2 separate regions of the Homo sapiens genome follow, and region 2 is linked to region 1. The links are contacts of gene promoters, found by promoter capture Hi-C in human tissues and cell types (Jung and others, 2019). All regions are on one chromosome and are shown on one strand. Each heading gives the region's core, a stretch centred on a gene start or on the middle of the fragment in contact. The rest is flanking DNA. Distances are from core to core; before and after follow the strand shown.

Region 1 (4,165 bases), core at 1,103-3,602:
TAAGTAAAAAAAAAAGCTGGGACTGGAACCTACAACTCTTACTACACATTCAATTCTGTTTATGCTACCACAGAAGCCTGTAGCAATAAACTATTACTGAAATAATGTGTGCTCTACTCGTCTATTTAGCATAAGTCTATAAACATAAATGTTACATGAAAAAGCAAAGTTATAGTTTTTTCAGGAGAGACAAGATAAGGGTCAGTGACACTGTGACAACTTGGGACATTTTTTGCCAGCCAGCTTTTTCAGACGGATAAACTTGTTAAGGTCAAGATAAATTTAGGCACCATAATAAATCTTTAAATCAACAGTAAACTGACAAAAAAAAACAAACCCACCACTTCATAAAGTATTTTTTTTTTTTTGAGATAGAGTCGTGCTCTGTCTCCCAGGCTGGAGTGTAGTGGTACGATCTTGGCTCACTACAAGTTTTGCCTCCAGAGTTCAAGCGATTCTCCTGTCTCAGCCTCCCAAGTAACTGGGATTACAGGTGCCCACCACCACACCCAGCTAATTTTTGTATTTTTAGAAGAGGTGAGGTTTCACCATGTTGGCCAGGCTGGTCTCGAACTCCTGAGCTTAAGTGATCCGCCCCCCTTGGCCTCTCAAAAGTGCTGGTATTACAAGCATGAGCCACCATGCCCAGCCTGAAGAAAATTTAATTAAAATACTGTTTTTAATCAAAGAAATTTTGTTTTGACTAAATTTAGTAGCACTGAAAAACAAGTGTCTACACTTCAGAAATTAAAGAACCAGTAAGTTGTCCTGCAGAAAATGCTAAATGAAAAAATAGCATAATAAACTGTAATGTCTTCTTGAGAGCAGCATATAGGGCTCAGACAGAACGTTTTAAGAAAACACTGTCAACAAGCCAGTTGCCATCATATGTATCAAGAGTAATGAATCTGATGAACCAAAGTGACAAAATGGATTTCAACAGTGTCTTGTTTAGTTTTTAGAAATTCCAACATCCCACTATTTATAGTATAGCCTCTTCTTCCACATGACAGTATGACAGACTCAGTTTTTTTACTTTTTTTTTTTTTTTATCTTTTTTGAGACAAAGAATCTTGTTCTGTCACCCAGGCTGGAAGTGCAGTGGCACAACCGCAACTCACTGCAGCCTTGACCCCCTGGCTCAATCGATCCTCCCACCTCGCCCTCCAGAGTAGCCGGGACTACGGGTGCCTGCCACCAAGCCTGGTGAAAAAAAAACCCGTGTTTCATATTGTCATATAGAAGAGGCTATACTATAAACAGTGGGATGTTGGAATATATATTTATATATATAAATATATATTATATATATATATATATATATTTTTTTTTTTTGTAGGGACGGGTCTCACTATGTTGCCCAGGCGGGTCTTGAACTCCTGGGCTCATGTGATCCCCCTGCCTCAGCCTCCCAAAGTGTTGGGTTTACAGGTATGATGAGCCACAACGCCTGGCTGACACACTTTTTTTTTTTTTAAATGCAATTTCTGTTTAGACCTTGACACCTGTTGATATTACTAGTCACTATGGAAAGAAGTAAAAACAGTTGCTTAAGATGCTCTAACACTTTTTTCCCCTGTAGAAGCCAACATGGAATACAACATGAAAACTGTCTAAATGGGAACCTTCTAATATAGCTCATTGTATGCCATGCATTTCCACTCCATTTCCACTATGTTGGAACTGACTTCTGCTTTCCTACTTAGCCATTAGGCGACTTAGTTGCCTCTAGGCAAGTAACTTCTCTGAAATGTTTCATTTTTCATGAAGTTTAAAAAAAAAAAGGTGAAGGACTTTAGAGAGCTTTGAACCGAATAAGGTCTATCAGACATCTTGAAAAGCTTTTTCTCCAGACGACGCAGAAACAGGCACACGGGGTTCTGCTTTCCCCACCTCCCACCCCCAAGCCCAGGTCCCATTCTTCTCACTTTCAATCCTCATTTGGGCTCCTAAAGGAATAGCAAAGAGAGTTATTTTATCAATACCAGCGCTCCTCTGTCCCCAAATCCAGCTAGGGAAGGTTTCGGAGGCCTCAGCTACTTGAGAGAGGGTAGAGACGATCCTTCCTCGCCTATCTACCCAGCCACCCACCCCTTCCCAGATGTAGCGTCCGGGCCCCAGACCAAGCGCGTGCTTGGAGCTCTCCGGTACAGTGAGGCGCGCGCTTGCCTGGCTAGGGTCCCTGTGAAGGAATGGGATCCCGAGGTGCTTGCCAGGACCGTAGCAGGCGGAAGCTGCTGGCAGCGCGAACGGGCGGCTCCCGCCGGCGTGGGTGGGGGAAGGGCGGCAGCCACACCCGGAAGTCGGTCCGGGAGGGAGGGGGAAATCTGAGGGAACGAGGCTTCCGGTGGCGCAAAGGGTGTCGGGAGCGGCTTCCTGCAAACCTTCCCTGGCATCTGGAGGGACCACCGTTGCCGCGTCTTCGGCTTCCACGATCTGCGTTCGGGCTACGCGGCCACGGCGGCAGCCACTGCGACTCCCACTGTGCCTGGCTCTGTCCATATTAGTTCCCAGGCGGCCGTCGCCGTTCCAGCAGCGGCAGCGGCAGCGGCAGCGGCGGACATGTTGTGAGGCGGCGGCGCGGGTGTCTGAAGGATGGTTTGGCCGAGGCGGCGGCAACGGCTGCTGGCGGCGGCGGCAGCGGCAGCGGGGCCTCGGGCTCTATAGAGCCGAGCCCGCTGGGTACCCGCCCGGTACCGCGGCGAGGCCAGTGCCCCTGGATCTTGCCTCTGCTCCGACGCCGTTGGGGACCAGTTAGGCGACAGCGCCCGCCCCTCTGAGGAGACACGAAGGTGGTTCCCCAGCCGCTCAAATTTCCGGACCACCGCGCTTTCCCCTCCTCAGCCTGGGCTGTGCTCTCTCTAGAATCCTCGGGCCCCCACTTTCTTCCCAAACTCATCCTAAATCTCTCACACACGCGAGTGTTCCCAGCCCTCAAGCCAGCTGCTCCTCCGTTCATTTTCTGCACCCTCTTCGCAAAGCACCCCCCGGGATCACTCTCCGAGGGCGACTTTTTGAGAAATCTCGGTGGAGTAGTGGACCAGAGCTGGGGAGTTTTTAAAAGCCGGGGCGCGAGAAACAGGAAGGTACTATGGCTTCCTCGTCTGGCAACGATGATGATCTCACTATCCCCAGAGCTGCTATCAATAAAATGATCAAAGAGACTCTTCCTAATGTCCGGGTGGCCAACGATGCTCGAGAGCTGGTGGTGAACTGCTGCACTGAATTCATTCACCTTATATCTTCTGAAGCCAATGAGATTTGTAACAAATCGGAAAAGAAGACCATCTCACCAGAGCATGTCATACAAGGTAAGTCGTGTGTGAGAGCTGGTTTGAATGAGGTTCTAGGGTAGCAGTCTGCTAATCGCGTGACCCTTTCGTGTCAAAGCCTCCATTCCTCTTCCCTGGTAAGTAACTTAATGAAAAAGCCAGACTGGCATGTAGGCAGCCGGTGCTTTAAAAACAATCCCTTTGTAGCATTTTTGCAGTACTTTTCATCCAGCGAATACATGTAAGGAGTGCAAACATTTAGGTCAGCGTCCCCAAAACGTAAAGAATAAGAGTGATCTCACTTTACAGCCAGGTAAGCCGAAGCAACAAGAATTACTTGCCTGAAGTTGAACTTAGATAATAATTAAGGAACGCAGAAATTCTCCTTTGGAAAGTTAAAATTCAGACGGAGGAACTTCAACGTGGGTGGAGACAGAGCACCCCCTTCCCCACCTGACCTTTCACCAATGTAGAGGAAAAGATTTATTTTCTGAACACATGAGTTAAAAAATTCTTAACATACAATGTGTTCAACGTTGTCAAGTTTATCGTTGTTAAATAAAAGGTGTATGTTTTCTGCTCTAAAAATGGTTTGATGGTACGTTCATGAATGAGTTACCAAATAACTCCTGTTCCATTCTGTAAGAATAGGGTGAACTTTAAATTTTCGTTTTTTTCTTTTCGTTTGCTTTTATGTCGTTTGCTTTGTTCTATTCTGTGGAGATAAGTTTTGAAATCTTTGATTGAAAGTTTATGCAAGTTTTTTTTTTAACGGAAAATTTCCCCGTCCTTTCCTGCTGTCATTCCTATTTGAATGTATACACTTAGGCTTTTATGGAACAGCACTTCTGAAAACTTCAACAGTTTCTTTTATCCTGGAAAGGATTTGGTCC
Region 2 (4,165 bases), core at 1,317-3,816, 1.1 Mb after region 1:
CTACTATAATGAGTTCAGGGTTCATGTGTAATTCTTCCTTATCCACAACCCTGCACAAGACTGAGGATGTATAGTCAAATATTATGTTCATAAGCTACATGGATTCCTTCCTTCTTTCCTCTCTTCCATCTTTGGCTCTCTTGTTTTTTCTCTCCAGTGTGGTTATGGTATTAATATGAAATAAAATCAGTTTCATTTGTTGTGGTTTGCTTTCAGTTTTTCATTTTTTCCTTCTTATTCTTATTCATTGAATTTCATTTCTGAATATGTAGAATGTAATCATGCTTCCAAGAGTCAAGCTTATGCAAAAAGATAGTCTCAGAGAAGTGTTACTCTTTTACATCCCTTCCATTCTATTTCTGCATCCCCTTGTAGGTCACAAATTTCATTGTTATCTGATTTTTCATCTAGTATTACTTTTCGCAAAGTTAAATAAATATATGTATATATCTTTATTTTCCCTTCTTTCATATGTTAAAGTTAGCATCCTTCATAAGCTCTTTTGCTTTTATAAAAAACTTAATTATACCTCCTGGAAATTATTTCATTTCAGTTCCTAGAAATCTTCCCTATTTTGAGGCGGAGGTTGCAATGAGCTGATATTGCGCCGCTGCACTGCAGCCTGGGTGACAGAGCGAGACCCATCTCGAAAAAAAAAAAAAGAAAAAAAAAAACAAACAGAAAAGAAATCTTCCCTATTATAGTTTGTGTAGCTGCATAGAACTCATTATGTGTATATACCAAAGATTAATTAGTGTCCTATACTTGAACAGTTGGTTTGTGTTCAATATTATGCTATTTCAAAATAATCTTGTGCATATTGCATTTTTGTATTTTTGGGTGTGTATCTACTTCCTAGTATATGTAAATTCCAAAAGGTAACACTCTAGGGTAAATGCCTGTATAGTTTTATATTTGAATCTGTGTAGCCAAATTCCCCTCAATTGCTTTTCATTCCTACCAGCAATGCATGAGGGTATTTATTTTCTCCATACCTTGCCACATAGTAACATTATCAAGCTTTTTTTTTTTTTTTTTGAGACGGAGTTTCACTCTTGTCGCCAAGGCTGGAGTGCAATGGCCCCATCTTGGCTCATCACAACCTCCGCCTACTGGGTTCAAGCAATTCTCCTGCCTCAGCCTCCCGAGTAGCTGGGGTTACAGGCATGCACGCCTGGCTAATTTTGTATTTTTAGTACAGACAGGGTTTCTCTATGTTGGTCAGGCTGGTCTTGAACTCCCCACCTCAGGTGATCCACCTGCCTCGGCCTCCCAAAGTACTGGGATTACAGGCATGAGACACCGCCATTATCAAGCTTTTGAATTTTTTTGCTAAAGTTGTGGGTGAGAAACTGACTTTAGTATAGTTTATCTTGCATTTCTTTATTAGGAGCGATGTTGAACATCTTCCAACGTGTTTAAAGACCAGCTTTTGTATCTCTTTTTGTAAATTGTCTGTTCTTGTCATTTGCCTATTTTTCTGTAGGATTTTTGGTCTTTTTCCTTAAGTTTTATAAGTTCTTTATCAGTTAGGGATACTGATTTTTTATTTGCAATGTAGGCTGCAAATGTTTTCTTCTAGTTTGTTGTTTGCCTTTTGACTTTGCTTATGGTTTTTGGCATGCCAAAGTTTAGAAATTTTTAAAAATTATATTTATCAATTTTTTCTTTTAGTGCATTTGAATTTTTAGTAACAGAAAACCTTTTCTGATATCTAGATTACAGAGGTATTTACCCATGTTTTCTTGTTGTACTTGTGTAATTTTATTTTCCACATTTATATCTGTGATCCATGTGGAGTTTATTCCTGTGTATGGTCTGAGGAAGGAATTTAACTTTTTTTCAAATGGTTATCCAGCGATCTCAACACCATTTATTAAAAAAAAAAACAACTATATTTGCCTGAGTGAGAAGGGATATTACCTTTATCATACACTAAATTTTTATATGCACTTGTCTCCATTTCTGGACTTTCCATTCTGTCGATCTGTCTATTCATGTACTAGTACCACACTGTTTTAATGATAGAGTCTTTATAGTATTTTGTTTTGTTTTTTTTTTTTTTTTTACAGTCCAGTGGGTTGTTGTTGTTGTTTTACACTTACTATGCCATGAATTCATAGGGAATAGGTTACAGCAGCTCAGGTTCCTTTCCAGTTTTTCTCACAAAGTGTGCTTCTCTGGGTGGAACAGGCTGGCGCTTCAGTTGAATCCAGGTACCTTTCTCTTTGGCTCCCTTCTTTTTCTGATCATTTTCCTTCTTGCGTTTCAGGAAGCTATCTCAGCTCTTAGAGTATGTAATGATGTAATGTGCTCAGTACACACACTGATTCTCTTGATAAGAATCTTGTCCTTAAAGTATTGGTTTATAGCAATGTCAACAACATCCTGAGAACATCGTAGACTTCCAGTTATGGCATGGTAACACTTGTGCCGTGTTCCTTTTTCAACAAGTGCCCATCTCCTTGATGTTTATGACTTAACTTTTCTGATAGATTTGCATGTATGTGGCCAAAGGAGCAATGCCATGTTTCCTAAAAAGCCTGGAGAACATGTATTGGGTGGCTCTCCTCTTTCTCTTTGTGTTCATCATCTTGGCGAATGACTGAAAGATGGTGGTTACAGCCAAAAGGCTATAGTATGTTTCACTATCTAGTGGGGCTATAACCTGCCTTTTCAGTTGCTCTTTGATGTTTATTTTCCCCTATAAACTTTAGGATGAACTTGTCTACCTTCATAAAAACAACAACAACAACAACAACAACAAAAAACCTCATAGGATTTTTTTCTTAAAATTGCATTAAGCTTATAAATTAGCTTAGGGAGAACTGACATACTGATGATATTGAAACATCCTTTTGTTTTTGTTTTTGTTTTTGAGACGGAGTTTTGCTCTCACTGCCCAGGCTAGAGTGCAATGGCCCGATCTCAGCTCACCGCAACCTCCACCTCCTGGGTTCAAGGGATTCTCCTGCCTCAGCCTCCCGAGTAGCTGGAATTACAAGCATGCACCACCATGCCCGGCTAATTTTGTATTTTTAGTAGAGATGGGGTTTCTCCATATTGGTCAGGCTGGTCTCAAACTCCTGATCTCAGGTGATCCGCCCGCCTCGACCTCCCAAAGCGCTGGGATTACCAAGCACAAGGGGTGTCTTTCTATTTGCTCAAGTCTTCTTTTCTGTGTTTCAGGAATGTTTTGTAATTTTCTTCATATAGGTTTTGCACATTTCTTGTAAGTTTATTCCTAAATATTTTATCTTTTTTGTTTCTATTATAAATGGGGCTTTCTCAACCATTGTATCTTACAACTGGTTGTGATTTGTGTATGTGAATATTATCCAGCTCATCAGGAGCACCAGGCTAGACTAAAAACTGAGGAATCTGGATCTCGAGTTTGTTCTTGGTAGTTATTTTATAATCAATTCATTCCTGCTGCTAAAGCGATGGTCAGCAAACTATAGCCTGTGGACCAAATCTGGCCTACCTTCTGTTTTTGTATGGCCTGCAAGCTAAGAATGGCTTTTACATTTTTAAATGGTCAATAAAGAAACAACAACAAACAAAAAATAATATTTCTTGACATTTGAAAACTACAGGGAATTCGAATTTCAGAGTCCATAAATAAAGTGTTATTGGAACACAGCAATGCCGATTCATTTATATTATTGTCTTTGGCTGTTTTCCTGATACAACGGCAGAGCCGAATAGTGGTGGCTGAGGTTCTCTGGCCCATGAAGCCTGAAATATTTATTACTTGGCCCTTTGCAGAAAAAACGTACAGAACTTTTCCTGAAGGAACTCATTCTCTAAGAGATGCAGAAGTTAAGTAAATAAACCAGTACGATACAGAGCTGTCATTTCTATTATAGAGGAGCAAAGAAGATTTTATTTTGACTTGAGGGTAGAGAAAGATAGAGAAAACATAACAGAAAGCGTTGACTGAGCCAAGTCTTGAAAGACAATATACACCGGGATCAGGGTAGCAGATTAGGTTACTAGAATCAGAATGCAAGGCTGCTGCGATGGCTCATGCCTGTCATTCCAGCACTTTGGGAGGCCAAGGTGGGGGGATCACTTGAGGTGAGGAGTTTAAGACCAGCTTGGCCAACATGGTGAAACCCCATCTCTACTAAAAAAATCCAAAAAAAAAAAAAATTAGCTGGGC

What was found. The method cuts DNA at HindIII sites, captures the fragments that hold promoters and counts their contacts. A contact is called where the count stands out against the background at its distance.
Region 2: a fragment that was not itself captured here is called in contact with the fragment with the promoter of DR1 in region 1 in 1 of the 25 tissues and cell types used here (hippocampus).

What each region holds. Positions count from the first base shown.
Region 1 is chr1:93,343,555-93,347,719 of GRCh38, forward strand. It overlaps DR1 (down-regulator of transcription 1), which reads left to right and starts at 2,353. Exons shown (of 3, transcript NM_001938.3): 1 at 2,353-3,311. The coding sequence starts at 3,092. CCDC18-AS1 (CCDC18 antisense RNA 1) reads right to left here and starts at 2,257. Exons shown (of 9, transcript NR_034089.1): 1 at 2,170-2,257. RefSeq lists enhancers at 1,948-2,483, 2,853-2,922, 2,983-3,192. The HindIII fragment of the contact is 15,958 bases long and covers 741-4,165 here.
Region 2 is chr1:94,404,290-94,408,454 of GRCh38, forward strand. It overlaps a transcript of ABCD3 not described here and the pseudogene RPL21P26. Among named protein-coding and RNA genes, the nearest start is that of ABCD3, 12 kb to the right of the region's middle. The HindIII fragment of the contact is 6,783 bases long and covers 1-4,165 here.